7 separate regions of the Homo sapiens genome follow, and all the other regions are linked to region 4. The links are contacts of gene promoters, found by promoter capture Hi-C in blood cells and fetal thymus (Javierre and others, 2016). All regions are on one chromosome and are shown on one strand. The core of a region is centred on a gene start or on the middle of the fragment in contact, and the rest is flanking DNA. Distances in the headings are between cores, read along the strand shown. Region 1 overlaps SLC39A8 (solute carrier family 39 member 8). Region 2 overlaps SLC39A8 (solute carrier family 39 member 8). Region 3 has its middle 19 kb from the start of SLC39A8. Region 4 holds the start of SLC9B1 (solute carrier family 9 member B1). Region 5 overlaps SLC39A8 (solute carrier family 39 member 8). Region 6 overlaps SLC39A8 (solute carrier family 39 member 8). Region 7 has its middle 90 kb from the start of SLC39A8.

What was found. The method cuts DNA at HindIII sites, captures the fragments that hold promoters and counts their contacts. A CHiCAGO score of 5 or more calls a contact.
Region 1: a contact is called between a fragment that was not itself captured here and the fragment with the promoter of SLC9B1 in region 4, in 9 of 17 cell types (non-activated CD4 T cells, total CD4 T cells, total CD8 T cells and 6 more). The highest score is 12.6, in non-activated CD4 T cells.
Region 2: a contact is called between a fragment that was not itself captured here and the fragment with the promoter of SLC9B1 in region 4, in 2 of 17 cell types (non-activated CD4 T cells and activated CD4 T cells). The highest score is 7.8, in non-activated CD4 T cells.
Region 3: a fragment that was not itself captured here is called in contact with the fragment with the promoter of SLC9B1 in region 4 in 10 of 17 cell types (monocytes, non-activated CD4 T cells, total CD4 T cells and 7 more); the score reaches 11.1 in monocytes.
Region 5: a fragment that was not itself captured here is called in contact with the fragment with the promoter of SLC9B1 in region 4 in 7 of 17 cell types (activated CD4 T cells, naive CD8 T cells, naive CD4 T cells and 4 more); the score reaches 8.0 in activated CD4 T cells.
Region 6: a contact is called between a fragment that was not itself captured here and the fragment with the promoter of SLC9B1 in region 4, in 1 of 17 cell types (total CD8 T cells). The highest score is 5.3, in total CD8 T cells.
Region 7: a fragment that was not itself captured here is called in contact with the fragment with the promoter of SLC9B1 in region 4 in 1 of 17 cell types (M2 macrophages); the score reaches 5.7 in M2 macrophages.

What each region holds. Positions count from the first base shown.
Region 1 is chr4:102,307,723-102,310,422 of GRCh38, forward strand. All of the region lies in intron 3 of SLC39A8 (solute carrier family 39 member 8), which reads right to left. Among named protein-coding and RNA genes, the nearest start is that of SLC39A8, 36 kb to the right of the region's middle. The HindIII fragment of the contact is 2,560 bases long and covers 1-2,535 here.
Region 2 is chr4:102,325,365-102,328,064 of GRCh38, forward strand. All of the region lies in intron 2 of SLC39A8 (solute carrier family 39 member 8), which reads right to left. Among named protein-coding and RNA genes, the nearest start is that of SLC39A8, 19 kb to the right of the region's middle. The HindIII fragment of the contact is 8,294 bases long and covers 1-2,700 here.
Region 3 is chr4:102,363,347-102,366,046 of GRCh38, forward strand. No RefSeq gene overlaps it. Among named protein-coding and RNA genes, the nearest start is that of SLC39A8, 19 kb to the left of the region's middle. The HindIII fragment of the contact is 640 bases long and covers 1,002-1,641 here.
Region 4 is chr4:103,018,327-103,021,026 of GRCh38, forward strand. It overlaps SLC9B1 (solute carrier family 9 member B1), which reads right to left and starts at 1,379. Exons shown (of 12, transcript NM_139173.4): 1 at 1,273-1,379. It also overlaps a transcript of SLC9B2 not described here. RefSeq lists an enhancer at 1,220-1,720. The HindIII fragment of the contact is 6,332 bases long and covers 1-2,014 here.
Region 5 is chr4:102,287,973-102,290,672 of GRCh38, forward strand. The region is part of intron 6 of SLC39A8 (solute carrier family 39 member 8); the gene reads right to left. Among named protein-coding and RNA genes, the nearest start is that of SLC39A8, 56 kb to the right of the region's middle. The HindIII fragment of the contact is 684 bases long and covers 1,090-1,773 here.
Region 6 is chr4:102,270,815-102,273,514 of GRCh38, forward strand. All of the region lies in intron 6 of SLC39A8 (solute carrier family 39 member 8), which reads right to left. Among named protein-coding and RNA genes, the nearest start is that of SLC39A8, 73 kb to the right of the region's middle. The HindIII fragment of the contact is 2,766 bases long and covers 1-2,636 here.
Region 7 is chr4:102,254,626-102,257,325 of GRCh38, forward strand. It overlaps a transcript of SLC39A8 not described here. Among named protein-coding and RNA genes, the nearest start is that of SLC39A8, 90 kb to the right of the region's middle. The HindIII fragment of the contact is 379 bases long and covers 1,063-1,441 here.

The sequences.
Region 1 (2,700 bases), core at 6-2,505, 710 kb before region 4:
AAGAACAAAATCTACTCAATGAAAAGTATATAGAAAACTGAGAATACAAATATGGCATAGCAAGCATTAATAGTAATACTGTTTATGTTTTAATCAGCCCTAAATCATCATTATGGGATTAATGAGTTTTACAGCTTGCAGGGAAATTGGAGAACATCTAGAACAGCGAACAGCGACAAACAATCTGAGATCCACAGGCTCCAAGCCACCTAGTTTCATCTATGGCTCAAGGAATAGATTAAAACAGCATTTTGAAAAAAAAGAAAAAACAGGGGCAGTGTGAGCCTCAGGACAAAGGTATGGGGTGATGGGTGGGAGGGCAGGGATGGAGATGGGTCACAGTGAGCTAGCTTCAAGGTGACCATAGCTGCTAACACTGAGTTTGTCACAATCATTTGTCTTCAGACTCCTGAGGACAGCATCTCCTCAGAGAAGGTGGCACCAGCAGCACCTCAGGTCCCCAGCTGGAGCCTCCTGGGAATCAAAGTCAGTCTGATGCAATAAGCACTCAGGAAGTGAGCACATGGGGCAGGAGGGAGCAGCTGCATTACATAACCCACCCTGTGAGACACAAATTAGGCAAAAATATTCCATACAGAAGAGATGCTGGTGACAGAAAAAGGTGGTGCATCTTTCATCTCTGGAGACCCAGGGCCTGGCACCCAGTAGGCACACAATAAGTATTGCTTAGAATAAAATGAATGAATACTATCCTAAGCTCTATAGCTAATGGCATGTGTGACCTATTGCCTTTGGGCCTCAATTTCCCTCTCTCTATCTTAAAGGGGCTGGTGTAAGGACAAAATGGGAACACAAGTGAAACATACCCAGGACAGTCACCTATGTGTGGGTGCAGGCTGAGATACAACGTGGCCTCAGGGCTGTGCAACATGTGACTTTGCCTCTGGCCCCACACACTGTACACAAAGTACAGTGTGACAGAGGAGAAAGCTGCCTCTGCATAGCCACTTCTTTAAAATATCCAGAAAGCATGTTTAAATGGTGGGCCACTTTTCTCCATGGCACTGTCAGTGGAGTACACTAGTAACACCTACAGCTCAGGGAGCATTTGCCATGTGCCAGGCCCTGTGCTAAGTGATCAACATATGTCAACTTATTTGAACCTCACAAAACCCTGTAAGAGAAATACTACTACCTCCTTCATACAGTTGGGGAAACCAAAGCAGATGGAATTCAAGTAACCTGCCAGAATCACGCAGATAGAAAGCTGGATTTTGAACCTGGACAGTCTGGCTCCCAGGCCCACATTTTTTAGCATATGCTTTATTATTCCTTTAGAGATAATCTCATTTTTCAAAAGCCCAAAGGACTCAATAAAACTGTAAAAATGTTTTCCTGAATTATACATACTTTATTAACACGAGATTGTTCACTATAATTATTGTTAGTCTAGAATTTCTATGTACAAATAAACAAACTTAGTAAATGTTCATTCAGCCTAGATGACGTGGACCAAACCATGGCTCCTGCCACCACACACACACAAACACACACAAGTGCAAACACACACACAGAGTGATACAAAGTCACCTGTGCTAAGTACCAAATGAAAAGGTCAGATTATAAATGGTACTATGTAACCCCGAGAATCATCACAGCACTGACCATGACGACTGCATCTTCTCCAGACACTTTCCTATCAGTTGCAGGTCCTGGCCATGCCCTACAACTTCACCTAACAGCCCACTTCATTCCCATTTATTACCTTATCACCTTAAACAATACTACTAGTCCCCACAGACATTCCACTTGGAGAGAGTTCTCAATTCCACACCTTTTATCGTGGTAGATCTACATGGAATTTCTCTTAACACAAACATACTTCTATCCATCACTAGCCTACATGCCTTCATTCATTCAACAAATATTTATAATCTCATTGGGTAGACAAGATATATACATGTTGAAAACTAAAATTAAAAGGCAAAGAAATTGTTAAGTGCCAATAGAAGCAAAGCCACATGCACATGTTAAACTCATCAGCTTCCCTGCAAACACCTGTTCCATTACCCTTGTTCACTACCTACATAAATAACAGGAACAGTAGGATCAATTTCAGTTTTTCACTTTCCACCAATTAATTCCATAGACAACTGGTGATCAAACCCTACCAGTTCTGCTTCAGGCATCTCTCACCTCTAGCCTCTCCATCCTCATTGCCAGTGGTCTTGAAGTCAGACCCTCATCACCTCTCACTCCCTCATCTTATATAACATGACAGTTATCGATCTGGTGCCCCTCCTACTAGCTGACATGGCCTACAGACTTATACTAAATCACAAAAGTGATCATCTCATGCCCCCATTTGAAATCGCCCCTCATAAACTGACCCTTGCACAGCCTCTCCAGTGTTATTTACCCCCTTCTCAACATGGCCTTTACCCAAACACTATGTTTTCCCAACCGAGCTTTACCTTTACACTGTGGTTCTCTGTCTGAAAACACTTTCCTATCTTCCTTGCCTAAGAAAGTCATACGTGGCCTTCCAAGCCAACACAAAGATCTCCTCTATGAAGCTTCCCTGCTCTCCAGGCAGTACTCCCTGGCTGGTCAGGATTCCCATTACTCTTTGTTCACTTACCACTTCTTGTGTGCTACAGTAATTTTATCACTGATATATTTGCCTACATCATATAAACTGTGTGATTCTCAATGAGAAGGGCTATGTTTTATTCATCC
Region 2 (2,700 bases), core at 53-2,552, 690 kb before region 4:
CCACCAACACACATGCACTCTCACATACATGCACACTCACACTCATATACACACACACTCACATGCATACACATACATACACACACACTTACGTTCACTCTCAAAACTCTTTTTGAAGGGAAGATGAAGAACGCTTTTCCTGAATATACAATTTAAAGGATAAAGATGCCTTGTTTTATGATGCACTGCTAGGGATAAAAAGATTATTATGAAACAATATATAGAGAATGCTGCTATAAATAAGGATAAATCTGTGCTCCAAATGTTAACAGTGTTTATCTCTGAGTGGTAAAATTATGTGTGGTTTTATTTTTTTTCCTTTCTGCTTCTTTATATCTGCCAAAGTTTTTAACAATGTACTTGTATTTCAGTTTCTTTTAAGAAAAATAAAATTAAGTCATGTTTTGTTTGTTTAAAATCTCTTTTTCCAGGTTCCCCTAAACAAAAGGCAGGCTGGAATTCTTAGAGATTTTACTAAAGAAAAAGAAAGAATGTTGAAAGCTACAACAATCTTTTTAAAAGAGGTTTACAACATTTTCTGTCTTTGTCATAGTGATGGACAAGTTTCCCAGCCCTACCCCATTCCATATTCAGCTTTTCGAGGTCTTGTCTTGAAAAGAGAAGGTGTTCTTTTAGACTCCTAAAAGTGTGGTGTGGTGTCAGAGCACAGACACCCAATCTAGATCCTTCGCTTCCCACCCCTGACATGTCTTCAGGGGGCAGAGGCCACCCTACTTCCCATCATCTGCTAGGGAATCCCATGGGCATTATCCCATTTTGCCAAGATCAAAAGCCTTTGTTTCCTTGATGTACACCAAGGGTTTCCCACTCAGTCCTTCTGAGGATAAAGTGTGGAGGGCATGCTGCTTCTTCAACTCAGGGCTGGGGAGTTGCCACAAGAAATGAGTGCACCTTGGCCGGGTGCGGTGGCTCACGCCTGTAATCCCAGCACTTTGGGAGGCCGAGGCGGGCAGATCACAAGGTCAGGAGATCGAGACCATCCTGGCTAACACGGTGAAACCCCGTCTCTACTAAAACTACAAAAAATTAGCCAGGCCTCGTGGCGGGCGCCTGTAGTCCCAGCTACTCGGGAGGCTGAGGTCTGAGAATGGGGTGCACCCAGGAGGCAGAGCTTGCAGTGAGCCGAGATCGCGCCACTGCATTCCAGCCTGGGCGACAGAGCAAGACTCCGTCTCAAAAAAATAAAAAATAAAATTAGCATGGAATGGGTTTATTGTTATGTTTAATAAATTAAATATTTTCAAGTTTTCTTAACATTAATTTCTATAATGGTAAGTATTAATAGATATAAATCACATATATTAAGGCTCTTTGGTATTCTCAATAATTTTTAAGAGTACAAGGGGGTCCTGAGACCAAAATGTTTGAGAATCTAGCAGATAAAAATGACACACCAGCAGAGAGAGCCCTTATGTACCACTTCACTGAGGAGCTAGGAGCTTCTAACCTAATCGTATCCAATACCCTTCTCATCCTGGTTATCCTACAACTCCACAAGGTTGTTTCTACTGATGCATCACCCATCAGCATGTCCTTCTTCTGCCCAAACTGCAACCCTTGCACACACACATACCAAAAAAACAAAAACAAAAACCTTCAAAATTACACATTTCTGGCCTGGCATGGTGGCTCACACTTGTAATCCTAGCACTTTGAGACACCAAGGCAGGAGGATCACTTAAGCCCAGGAGTTCAAAACCAGCTTGAATGACAAAAATAATTAAAAATTAGCTAAGCATGATGGTGCACACCAGTAGTCCCAGTTACTCAGAAGGATGAGCAGGAGGATCGCTTGAGCCCAGGAGGTCAAGGCTGCAGTGAGTCATGATCGTGCCACTGCAATCCAGCCTGGGTGACACAGTGAGACCCTGTCTCAAAAAAATTGTACACATTTATGCCGAGAGTCTAAAGTCCTAACACTTAAGAACCTCACTTGCCTGTCTCTAATATTCCTTCCCCCTTCAGCATGCTGTAAAAGGATAGATGAATACTCTATCCTAACCAGTTATAATCAGCCTTATATTGTAACTTCACTGTGACTTTGCATCTCCCATGACCCCTGCCTAGAATATGATACATCTCCTCTCAAACTACCCAACTCCTGTCTGTCCTGCAAGGCCCATTTGGAATCCATCTTCACTGCCTAATATTGCTATACCCATCCCTTCTCCAGACTCCAGACATCCCTGTTATCTATTTGTTTAGCACTTAATGTGTGCTTCCATGTATTATTATCTTCTCATGAAATGGATATTCCTTCAATAAGATCATAAAAATCTACAGAGAATGGACTTCTTCCTTTTTATATCTTCTTCAACCCCTAATAAGTCCTTGGACACATAAGACACTCAATTTATAAACAATTGCTAATTTTGTAGATTAAGGAAAGAAGGTGAATGAAAGGAGATTTCAAACTAGCACACTGTGTTTGAATATAATTCTGAGAAATATAAATCAATAACCTGGGAATCATCTACCAAGACCTCTGAGGAGGCAAATATTCCAGCCATAAGTTTTTCTTCTCATTCTATGAAACTTTCCTAGAATCAGTTTAATGTGGCCCTGATGCTACAAATAAACTAATCCTGATATCAGTGTTTCTAAGTTGCCGTAAAGAATATAGTAATGGGCTACAGAGAAAATCCCAGGCTAAATGAGAAGAAAAAAATTCCTGGAAAG
Region 3 (2,700 bases), core at 72-2,571, 660 kb before region 4:
CACTTTGTTGGATGCAAACAAATACAGCATTTGAGCGGACCTGTGGGGATTTCAGGTCAGCTGAAGTGAAGAGGTTGGTTTCCCAGGAAATCTACAGGAAATACATGGAGGGCAAGGCACAGCCTTGATGAACCTTACAAACTGCTCTCAGTGAGTGGTTCTCATCAAGGAAGCCTCAAGATGGTGAAGAATGCATGTTCTAGCTGGGACCCTGTCAGCAGCGCATTGCTACCACCAAGTTAAAGTTATTTCCAGCACAAACCAGTGTTGTTTTGCTCAAGAGAATGCTTAATCCCTACCAGCCTCTTAGCAACCGTGTGCCATTATTCTCAAGAGAAGGGGCAGGGCAGGAACAATATTACCCCATCACTGAAAAACCCTCAAGTTGCAGAACATGCTAATGATGAGCTGGTAAAAACATTGCCATCACTAACTATATGAGAAAGCCACTATAGAAATCAGTTCCTTAAAAACACTGTAAGACTGCATGATTATTTTGATTCTCAATTTAACAGGCAATAACTTTTACTACAAGTAAACTTTGGTTTGATTCCAAAGAATAGCTAACGAGATCATGCAAATTTCAAAAATACAATTCCTTCACTTATTCAACAGATATTTTTGGGGTGCCTAGTAGACACTCTTCTGTGTACTGAAGAATCATCGATGAACAAAACAGGTTGCCGGGTGGTGGGGAGGAGAAGGGGAGGGGATGGTTAATAGGTACAAAAAAATAATTAAAATTAATGAATAAGTCCTAGTATCTGACAGCACAACAGGGTGACTATCGTCAATAATAATTTAATTGTACATTTAAAAATAACTAGAAGAATATAATTAGATTGCAACACAAAGGATAAATGCTTGAGGGAGTGAATACCCCATCTTCCATGATGTGCATATAATATTAAGTGGGGAGAAAAACACAAGAATACAAAACTATAGAATATAATACTTGAGCTTATAAGAACAATTAATTGAGGCATATATAGGCAAAAATAAGCTTTCAGACATAGATATTGATTTAGGAAAAGAAAAGAAAACATAGATATACATAACAGCTACTAGTGTTATATTTGGCATGAGATTACCAATAGTATTTTTTAAAGTATTTTCTGCGCTTTCTAAAATTTCATAATGAGTACATCATCGGTGGCAAATTAATACTACATCATGTATGTTTAAATGCAAAAAACAGGATAAGATGCCACTTTATTCATCACTGCCAAAACTTGGAGGCAACCAAGATCTCCTTCAGTAGGTGAATGTAAAAATAAACAGTAGTATAGGCATACAATGGAATATTATACAGTAGTGTAGGCATACAATGGAATATTATAAAAAGAAATAAACTATCGAGCCACAAAAAGACATGGAGGAATTTAAGTGCATATTGATAAATGAAAGAAGTCAATCTGCAAGGGCTACATACTGTATGATTCCAACTATGTGACCTTCCAGGGAAGGCAAAACTATGGCAACAATCAAACGATCAGCAGTTGCCAAAAGGCCGAGAGGAGGCAGGGATGCTTAATAGGTACAACACAGAGCATTTTAGGACAGTACTACTATTCAGTATACACCGTAGTGGTGGATATATATTATATATTACCAAACCCTGACGTACAGCACCAAGAGCGAAGCTTAATGTAAACAGTGGGCTTTAGTTAATAATAATGTATCAATACTGGCTCATCAATTGCAACAAATATATTGCAATAATGCAAAATGTTACTAAGAGAAACTTGTAGAGGGATACAAGGAGGTTTATGGCAACTCTCTGCTCATTTTTCTGTCGACCTAAAACTGTTCTAAAATAGAATTTATTAATTTTTTAAGCAATAGGCTAAGATGAACTCTCTCACTTTGACCTTCCAGTGTTATAGGATTCAACCCATGGATAATACAGGTTTGGGCCGTAACCCCAAAAGACACAATCCTGAAGGCCATAATCCCAAATGTTGAAATCCCAAAAGATCAAAATCCTTAAAATCCCAAAAATCACCATCCTGAAAAGTCAAAATTCCAAAAATAAAACTCTGGAAAAAATAAATTTAAAAAATTATTTAAAAGACATTTGTTTACATTTTCATTTTTATTACTTATTATTATTATTATTTGAGACAGAGTCACTTTGTCACTCAGGCTGGAGTGCAGTGGCTCAATCTTGGTTCACTGAAACTTCTGCCTCCCGGTACAAGTGACTCTCGTGCCTCAAACTCCCAGAAGTACAGGCGCACACCACCATGCCCAGCTAATTTTTTGCATTTTTAGTAGAGATGGGATTTCGCTATGTTGGCCAGACTGGTCTGAAACTCCTGACCTCAAGTGATCCACTCACCTTGGCCTCCCAAGTGTTGTGATTATAGGCATGAGCCACCGCACCCAGCCTACATTTTTAAAAGGAAACTTACTTGAGAAACACGTAAAAACATAGCTGAACACTTCATATGCCACTTTTTGCAATAAAATGGGCAATGATAATGACATATTTTTGCAAGAATAAAACTCAGGTATACTAACAACAGTTGCACAAGTGTGGCAGTTATAAGCAGACAAACTGGCCGGGCGCAGTGGCTCATGCCTGTAATCCCAACACTTTGGGAGGCCGAGGTGGGTGGATCACCGGAGATCAGGGTTTGAGACAAGCCTGACCAACATGGTGAAACTCTGTCTCTACTAAAAATACAAAAATTAGCT
Region 4 (2,700 bases), core at 129-2,628:
CCACTGTGCAATATATCCACACAACAAAACTGAACTTGTACTAACTAAATCTGTATAGAATTTTAAAAAGTAAGTTAAAAAAAATTCTGGTACTCACAGGGGACAATACCTATGAATGCCCTTTTCATAGGCACACAGTGACTAAAATATTTGGGGCATGAATTCTCTAGGGGTGACAATAATAAGTGTCATTTTTCATGCTTCTGTTGCACACATAATTATATTTATCTCTAAGGAAAATCAGAGAGTGGGGTGTGGCCTCCCTCAGTGCCACCTGGGCCAGTTGTCTCCCCACATCACCAAATCTGTTATTTCACAGGCTCTAGGACACCCATAGAGGGGGAGTGAGGGACCTGGTATGGTCCCGTGAAGAGCTCTTGTAACACTACTGATTGATGTGACAGACACAGTATGTGTGCAACTTTCCTTTTTCCTTCAAAAGCACTGGTCTAAAGCAGGGATCCCCAACCCCTGGGCAGCAGACAGGTACAGGTTTGTGGCCTATTAGGAACAGGCCACACAGCAGGTGAGCAGGGCTAGAGGATTATGCCTGAGCTCCAGCTCCTGTCAGATGAGCAAAGGCATTAGATTCTCATAGGAGCACAGACCTGATTATGAACTGCGCATGTGAGGGATCTAAATTGCGCCTTCTCAAGAGAATCTAATGCCTGATGATCTGAGATAGAAGAGTGTCATCCCATCTTGCCCCCCACCCCAAACTGTCTTCCATGAAACTGATCCCTGGTGCCAAAAAGGTTGGGGACTGCTGGAAGTGCTTGTCCCCTGGGTTAAAGCCAAGAGGAGTAAACAGGATTAAGGGGCGTGGATGTGGGTGGGTGGGGGAAGAGAGCTTTCTCAGGATCGGCAACCAATCCCAGAATCTCCAGTCGCAGGAGCATGTATGTGAAGGTTTATTTGCAGGGATCCACCGTTTGTAAAATAGTACACGCTTAATAAAATTAATTTTGAGGTCAATCTTAACTGACAGATCTCTTCTTTCTTACTGGCGAGTATTTGTAAAATAAGAAAAACAGGAGGAAAAGAGAACAAACAAGAGAGATGTGGGATGACGGAGTAAGGAAAGGAGTCACGGAGAGGAGAGACAATGTCTGTGGCTGTTCCCTCAGCGTCTGGGAGAAGAGCCCAAGAATCCCATTGAACTGAGGGGGAGGAAAGGCCCTCCTGCGGCCTACCGCAAGGAAACGATCGCGGCAGACCCGGGACTAGCGCCAAAGGGCTTGGAAGGGCGGCGTTAAGAAAAATGGGCCGTACCTACAACTTCTTTCGCAGCCCTCGCTGGCCCGGGAGCGGCCCAGGAGCCCAGTGACCGTTGCGTAAGCCACGCGCCACCCAGGTGGGCAGGGTGGTGACGCGAAAGCCCGGATAGACTTCCGCGCAGGGGCGGGGCGGGGCGAGGAGGCGGCAGCGCGTTTAAGTGACGTCTTGGCTGTCCGCGCCGGCAGAGGCGAGGGTTCTGGGGTTTCTGGGACTGTCTGGTGTGTTTTCTGTCTATTGAACCCTTTCCTTTCGACGTCTCTTCTGAATATTGACTCATCGGGTTGTAGAAATCCAGGGACAGAGTTGACATCACTGGGCATTTTAGCCAAAAAGCAGTGCTCGGGACTGCATGTGCCAGAAGTAAACTTGTCAAAACTCAGATTGTGTTTCCCCTAAAGTCAGCTTAAAGTGCAATGGTAGAAGAGCACGGTCTCTCCCCAAGACGGCCTGAGCTTAAACTGCAGCGCTGTCACTTGCTAGCTATGGGACCTAGGCAAATACATCGTCTCCCTGAGGTTGTCTTCTCATCTGTAAAGGACGCTGTGGTGGTGGTGTGAGAATAAATGAGACATGGCAAGTGTCTGGAACAAAGACGCTGTGTACAAAGTAAACACTTAATATACTGTTATCAGTATAAAACCTTTGTGAGTTTTTTTTTTTTTTCCGCATGAAATCTTATGTGGAAAGTTGTATGTGAAAGAAATGAAAGCGGAGCTGCGTTGATGGTGGGCCCAGAAGCTTTGGCCTTTCAGTCCCAAAGTTTCCAGTAATAGAATCCGCGCTTCCTATAAAAGACAAAAACAACTGTTATTGGAGAAAGTGTAAACTTCTTAGAAAGACAAACTGCCCTTTCCTATCTAATGTTTCTCCTGACACTCAATGTTTACTCTTGAACACTGTATTCCTTTTTGCCTCAGTGCGTTCTGTAAAGTTAATTCCTCTACCGGAGTGTTCTTTTTCTTAGTCATCATCTAAGATCTGATCCAAATTACCGTTCCTTCTTGGGTAACTTAAATACGAAATTATCTTTTTATTGGTTTTGTTGACGTTGTTGAGACAGGGTCTCACTCTATTACCCCGGCTGGAGTGCAGTGCGATCTAGGCTCCCTGCAGCCTCCTCCTCCTTGGTTCAAGCGATCCTCCTGCCTCCTGAGTAGCTGGGACTACAGGTGGGCACCACTACCCCCGGCTAATTTTTGTATTTTTAGTAGAGAGGAGTTTCACATATTGCCCAGGAGGACTTGAACTCCTGGACTTAAGTGATCTGCCCGTCTTGGCTTCCCACAGTACTGGGATTACAAGCGTGAGCCACCACAGCCCTGCCCTTTTTATTGTTTTTAACACCTTCCCTCCTTCAACGTGTTATAGACATCTCAGCAAGGATTTATTTTTCTTCCTCGTTTCAGGAGAGTAGACAGGGTT
Region 5 (2,700 bases), core at 182-2,681, 730 kb before region 4:
CCAGCATCACACCACCAACTACCACCATTATTATTTCTATTAGTTATTCAGGAGTGACAGGTACAGGCATACCTCTTTTTCCTGCACTTCACTTTATTGTGCTTCTCAGATATTGTGATTTTTACAAATTGAAGGTTTGTTGCAACCCTGCATTGAGCAAGTCTATCAGCACCATTTTTCTATCAGCATGTGCTCATTTCATGCCTCTGTGCCACATTTTGGCAATTCTCACAATATTTCAAACTTTTTCATTATTATTATATCTATTATGGTGATCTGTAATCAGTGATTTTGATGTTACTATTGTCATTGTTTTGGGACACCATGACTGTGCCCCCATAAGATGGCAGACTTAACCAATTAATGTTGTATGTGTTCTGACTGCTCCGGTGACCAGCCATTCCCCCAATTTCCTCCCTTCTGTAGGGCCTCTCTATTCCCTGAGACACAAGAGAATTGAAATTATGCTAACTAATAATCCTAAAATGGCCTCTATGTGATCAGGTAAAAGGAGAATTGCATGTCTCTCACTTAAAATCAAAAGATAGAAATGATTAAACTTAGTGAGGAAAACATGTCAAAAGCCAAGATAGACCAAATCTAGGTTTTGTGTGCCAAACAGCCAAGCTGTGAATGCAAAGGAGAACTTCTTGAAGGAAATTAAAAGTGCTACTCCAATGAACACACAAATGATAGGAAAGCAAAGCAGCATTATTGCTGACATGAGTAAAATTTGAGTGGTTTGGATAGAAGATCAAACCACCCACAACATACCCTAAAGTAGGAGCAAGCCCCTCTTTTCAATTCTATGAAGGCTGAGAGAGGTGACAAAGCTGAAGAAGAAAGGTTGGAAGGTAGCAGAATTGGTTCATTGGGTTTAAGAAAAGAAGCCATCTCTATGACATAGAAGTGCCAAGTGAAGTAGCAAGTTCTGATGGAGAAGTTATCCAGGAGATCTAACTAAAATCATTGATGAAGGTGGCACACTAAACACCAAATTTTCAATGTTGGTAAAACAGCCTTCTGTTGGAAGAAGATGCCATCCAGGGCTTTCATAGCTAAAGAGAAGAAGTCAGTGCCTGGTTTCAAAGCTTCAAAGGACAGGCTGACTCTCTTGTTTGGGGTTAATGCAGCTGGTAACTTTAAGTTGAGACCAATGATCATTTACCATTCCAAAACTTCTAGGGCCCTTAATAATTGTGCTAAATTTACTCTGTCTGTGCTCTAGAAATGAAACAACACAGCCTGGATGGTAACACATCTGTTTACAGCATGGTTTACTGAATATTTTCAGTCCACTGTTGGGACCTACAGCTCAGAAAAATAAAAGAAATTCCTTTCAAAATATTACTGCTTATTGACAGTGCATCTAGTCACCTAAGAGCTCTTACGGGGATGTACAAGGAGATGAATGTCGTTTTCATGCCTGCCAACATAACATCCCTCCTGAAGTCCATGGGTCAAGGAGTAGTTTTGACTTACAAGTCATATTATTTAAGAAATACATTGTGTAAGACTGTAGCTGCCATAGTAGTGATTCCTATAATGAATCTCAGCAAAGGAAGTTGAAAACCTTCTAGAAAGGATTCATCAATCTAGATGCCATTAAGAACATTTATGATTCATGGGAGGAGGTCAAAATATCCACATTTACAGGAGTTGGGAAGAAGTTGATTCCAACCTTCATGGATAACTTTGAGGTGTTCAAGAATCCAGTAAAGGAAGTCACGGTAGGTGTACGGGAAATAGCAAGAGAATTACAATGAGAAGTTAAGCTTGAAGATGGAAGTGAATTGCTGCAATCTCATGATCAAACTTGAATAAATGAGCAGTTGCTTCTCATGAATGAGCAAACAAAGTGGTTTCTTGAAACAGAATCTACTGCTGGTATAGATGCTGTGAACAACGTTGAAATGACAACAAAGGATTTAGAATACTTCATAAATGTAGTTGACAAAGCAGTGGTAGAGGTTCAGAGGATGGCATCCAATGTGGAAAGAAGTTCTACTGTGGGTAAAATGCTGTCAAACAGCATGTTCTCGCATGTACAGAGAAATCTTTCATGAAAGAAGCAATCGATGTTGCAAACTTCATTGTTTTAAAATACTTCCACAGTCACTCCAAACTTCAGCAACCACCACCCTGGTCAGCAGCCGTCAACATCAGAGGCACGGCCCTCCACTTACAAAAACATTAGAACTTGCTGAAAGCTTGGATGATCAGTAGCACTTTTTAGCAATAAGGTATTTTTAAATTAAGATATCAATGTCATTGTTTAGACATAATGACAGTGCACACTTAATAGACTATAGTGTAGTGAAAACATATCTTTTATATTCACTGGGAAACCAGAAATCATGTGACCTGCTTTATTGTGATATTTACTTTATTGCAGTGGTCTGGAACCAAATTCATCTGATTTTGACACCGACTATGGTTCAGAGAATATCTGAGCAGGGACAGCCTTCCAGGAGGTAAAGAACATAATGATGTTTCTGGAACTTCATACAAAGAAGCAGACTACTTTCATGTGATCACCTGGCTCCCAGTGCACTCCAGAGTTTCAAGGCATACTGTTCTCCTTGTCTACAACAGTGTGTGATTCTAACTAGATGGGCCACCACTCTGTATCTCACAGCTGTGTAGTACATGGTTGAGTTTGTAGGTGTGAAGAAGGTAAACGTCAACAATTTGGCCCCT
Region 6 (2,700 bases), core at 4-2,503, 750 kb before region 4:
CACCAAAGTTAAAAAAATAGAGGGAGACTATGTTGAATCCCAACATAAATTGGAGGGCAAAAAACAAAATTTTTTTCAAAAAAAGTACTTAGAAATTAAAATGGAGAAAACAAATGGGCTTATTGCAGAACAGTTTAAGGAAGGAGGAGAAAGTTGTAGAGGATGAGGAGGCCTGGGGGAATAGGGAGCACAAGGAAAGGGAGAAGTAGCATGAGGAGGAGGAGGAGGAAGACAAGTATAAGGAGGATGAGAAGGAGGATGAGGAAGAGGATGAAGAGAAGGATGATTAGGAGGAGGACAAGGTGGAGCATGTGGAGAAGGAGGAAAAGGAAAACAGGGAGAACAAGGAGAAGGAAACGAGCAAGCATGAGTAAGAGGAGCAGGAAGAGGACTAAAAGGAGGAGAAAGATAAGGACAGACAAGAAGGACACAAAGGAGGAGGTGAAGAATATATGGAAGAGTCTCTTTTAATAAGTACAGAATGTGAATCTAATTCTATTCCACTAAATCTCATAAAAGGCCATCACAGAGGATAGCTTCAGTAATAAAGTGAACAAGAAAATCTGATTGTCACTCAGTATCCTTCATCAACCATCCAAATGTTTGCTTAATGGACCCACATATAAAGCACAGAGTGGTGCAGAGGGAGGATATATATAGGTTCAGCATTCTCTTCTCCTACCAGGGGGAATCTGGCTTTCCAGCACTAAAGAAGTCCCAAACTTCAAAAGCCAAGGCTGATGCTGAGCCCCCAAAAAGCTATCACTGTCCAACAGGGCAAGAGGACCAGGTGGCTGTATGTGGTAGCAGAATGATTCCACTGGATTCCTCCCATTATAAGGGGATGCTCTTGGACTCACAAAGATAGACATATACAATATATGTCTTCCCTGCCTTCAGTGCCTCTGCAAGCACCATCATTCATGGACTTATAGTGCAACTGATATATAGCCAAGGTTTCCTGTGAAAACTATCTCCTAACCATTTTTTAGCAAAGGAAGTGAGACAGTGGGCTCAATACATATAATTCATGGATCACATCACCTGCACCCTCTAGTAGCAACCAGTTTGACAGAATGATGAAATGTCCTGATGAAGCCTCAGCCAGGGTGCAAGCCAAGAGATAACACCCTGAGAGGTTGGAGTTCTGTTCATAGGTTGGGCAGCCAAGTATATGGTGTCATCTCTGCTGTAGAGAATGCACAAATCCAGGAACCAAGAGGTGAGAGTAAAAGGGGTATAAGTCAGGCTCAGGGGCTCCTGCCAGTAATCCCAGCACTATGGGATGCCAAGGGGGAGGACTGCTTGAGGCCAGGTGTTCAAGACCAACCTGAACAACATAACTAGACCTCGTCTATACAAAAAATATATTACTTTGGGAGGCCGACACAAGCAGATCACGAGGTCAGGAGATCGAGACCATCCTGGCTAACATGGTGAAACCCCGTCTCTACTAAAAATACTAATAAAAAAAATTAGCTGGGAGTGGTGGTGGGCGCCTGTAGTCCCAGCTACTCAGGAGGCTGAGGCAGGAGGATGGTGTGAACCCGGGAGACAGAGCTTGCAGTGAGCCGAGATCGCAGTGAGCCGAGCCTGGGTGACAGAGTGAGACTCCATCTCAGAAAAAAAAAAGAAAGAAAGAAAAAATTACCCAGGTATGGTGTCATGAGCTTATGTTCCCAGCTACTCGAAAGGCTGAAGGAGAGTTACAGTGAGCTATGATTGCGCCACTGCACTCCAGCTGGGCGACAGAGTTAGACCTTGTCTCTAAATAAATAAACAGATAAATAAAGTAATCTATCTTATTTTTATGCCTAATACACCACTTAAAGAATTCTTACTGACAGGCCAGATGGCCAAGTAGGAACAGCTCTGGTCTGTAGCTCCTAGCCAGACCAACGCAGAAGGTAGGTGATTTCTGTATTTCCAACTGAGGTACCCAGTTCATCTATTCAGGATGGTTAGACAGTGGGTGCAGCCCTCTGAGGGCAAGCAGAAGCAGGGTGAGGACCCAGGAAGTGCAAGGAGCCGGGGACCTCCCTCCTGGAGCCAAAGGAGGCCATGAGGAGCCATGCCATGAGGGACAGTGCTCTCCAGCCCAGATACTATGCTTTTCCCAAGGTCTTTGCAACCTACAGACCAGGAGATTCCCTAGGGTGCCTACACCTCAAGGGCCCTGGGTTTCAACCACAAAACTGGGTGGTTGTTTGGGCAGACACCAAGCGAGCTACAGGAGTTTTTTTCCATACCCCAGTGGTGCCTGGAACACCAGCAAGACAGAATCATTCACTCCCCTGGAAAGGGGGCTGAAGCCAGGGAGCCAAGTGGTCTTGCTCAGCGGGTCCCACCTCCATGGAGCCTGGAAAGCTAAGACCCACTGGCTTGAAATTCTCGCTGCCAGCACAGCAGTCTGAAGTCAACCTGGGGCACTCGAGCTTGGTGTGGGGAGGGGCATCTGCCATTACTGAGGCTTGAGTAGGCAGTTTTCCCTTCATAATGTAAACAAAGCCTCCAGGAAGTTCAAACTGAGCGGAGCCCACCACAGCTCGGCAAAGCCACTGTAGCCAGACTGCCTCTCTAGATTCCTCCTCTCTGGGCAAGGCATCTCTGGCAGAAAGGCAGCCGCCCCAGTGAGAAGCTTATAGATAAAACTCCCATCTCCCTGGGTCAGTGCACCCACGGGAAGGGGTAGCTGTGGGC
Region 7 (2,700 bases), core at 2-2,501, 760 kb before region 4:
GTTGCTAGGAAACTGCATTTTTCTGTGAAAACATGATGTATGAAGTGTAGCCTAGATTCATATCCTACATTAAACATCTTCCTTGGAGTTATCTATGAAGTCTGATTTTGCATGGCTTGTCAAGGTATATAAGTTATTCCCTCAGTTATCCTGCTCCTGCTCTTAAAAATCATATGGTTCTATACATAGAATATTATTTCAACACCATTATTTGTTCTGAACTCAAGGTTGTTTAGGTTATAGATTGAGGCCCCTTTTGGCTCCAAAACTTTTCAGTGGCATCAAATGTTAGTTACCCTCTCATAGTTGTCACTGAGGAACAACCTTCACTTTTGATGTATTAATTGTGCTAAGTGAAAAAAAGTAAAATATGTACAATGTTTCTATGTATTCCAAAGTGAAATAAAAATAAATAGAAATTATCCATGAGTTTTGAAAGATTTTTGCTCACCACTACTGGAACATAATAGAGATTTTACTATACTCTGCCTAGGAAGTTGACTCCTGACATTGATAGTGAAGTTCCAGAAAGTGCTGAGGAACTTTGCTAAATTCAAGAGCTGGGAATTTTGTTTGAAATAAATATCTCAATATTTAACTGCTGTATTAATTAGAAAAATTGTATTGCAAGAAACAGAAACCCAAATCAAATTAGTTAAAGCCAAAAAGGACATACTGAGATACTAGAATAACTTGGGTAACTTACAAAATTGAAGGAACTAAAGAAAAATAACTGAAAAGTACTAAGGATGTCAGGAACTAGAACCAAAGACAACACAACTCTCTCCAATCAGTCCCCATAGCTTCTACTGTTTTCTCAGCATCCATCTCATTTTCCCGGGTTTCTCCTTGTGCCAGGAACATGACCACCAGAAGCTCTGGGGTCAAATACAAGAGGCAAGAGTTTTGGCTCTCCACATCCTTAGAAGTTTCTGTGTAAAGATTACAATTGACCCAGACTGGGTGACTTGCCCAGCTTGTGGCAAATGGGTGAGGTTAAGTGCATTGGTTGACAATCTCCAGTAGGGGTTGGGAGAAACCAGTTTCTAAAAGGAAGAGTGAAGCTTTTACATGGACAAGGGCAGAAGTCAAGGTATGCAGAAACAATCAACAGAAGTGCATTACTCCAAACATATCCAGCAATGATTTTAATACCACTTTCACCAGTTTTGTCACCACAAAGTGACAGGACAACCCAGCTCCTAACTTATACAATGTCATCTTTATGACTATTCTAAAATGCTTTGAACTTTTTCATCTTAAAACACCAAAGGATCGCTATGACAGCGCAGGTGCTTTTTCTCACGTGCATCCTTCTACGAAATGCTTAGACATGAATTCTGAGGCTTACTTTTCACAAATTAAAAGATTTTTTCATGGAAACACAAAAGATACAAAAAGTAGAAAGATCCATATGAAGCACCTTCCTCCACAGTTTCTAAGCTTCTAAAATCAATGTTTCCCAGTTCATTAACAAGCTCGTACATAATTATTAGAGTAACACCATTAAGGTTAGCACATACAATGACTCCCAAAGAAAAAACATTGTCTATTTATAAGCATTGCTGTGAATGGGTGGAACGTCTCAGCAATACAGTCACAAGCAGCAGTCCCGGTGTTCTCACTCAGATATTCCACGTAGCACTTCATAGTATGCTTTAAGTGAGGGAATGTGACCTATAGATACATCTACACGAGAAGGATTCCCATAAGGCATAAACTGTTCAATAAACAATCATAAAAATATATTCATTCTTCCCTATCTAGAAATCTATGTCTTTATTTAAAAATACGTGATGATTCATGCTTAAGGACGTGTTGTTGGACAGTTGGTTACAGTCTTTTATCTAGTCAAAAGATTCTTATCTGCCAGAAATGTGATAAGTCCACTTATAACTAGTCTCTCAAAACATCCTAGATATTTTTCTCTGTATGCATAGTTAATCATACAAATTAATCTAACCTAATGCCATCTTGTTACCCTAAAATGTTTAATGATAATGGCTTATCATCTTTCATCCCCATAAATTTTCTCCTTGCTTTCAGTGAGCAGCAACTTCACTCCCATATACGCACTTGTTGTGTATTCCTTCTCCTGCCAAATTCACACAGTCACCTCCTCTTCCAGGATAAGACGTTTACTGCTGATAATCACAGCCACAGGGGAAACAAAGAACTGCCATGCTCAAATGAGGGTAAGGTGAGGCAGGTCCATTAATTTACAAAGGGACTGATTACAAACATGCAAGTGGGGTGCAGGGAAACCACAGGTGATGCTACATGAACGCAGGGCTGAAGACAGTAGAGCTGTTACTACCCCTAGGCCAAAGGGACAGAGAGATAGTGGGCACCAAAACCAAAGGAGGGGAATCTACAGGCAGGTGCTGGCCCAGCAACAGTTTTTTAGATGAACTAGGTACGGAAATTGAGAATAAGCATTTATAAACTTCAACAGTAATCCCAAAGAATAATTGTGTCTAATAAAAAATGAGGTTTATCTAATAATAAAAATGGGGTTGGATTTTCTATGTCTTTTTTTTTTTTTCCAAGATGGAGTCTTGCTCTGTTACCCATGCTAGAGTGCAGTGGCATTATCTCGGCTCACTGCAACCTCTGCCTCCCGGGTTCAATTCTCCTGCCTCAGCCTCCTGAATAACTGGGATTACAGGTGTCCGCCACCACCCCCAGCTAATTTATTTA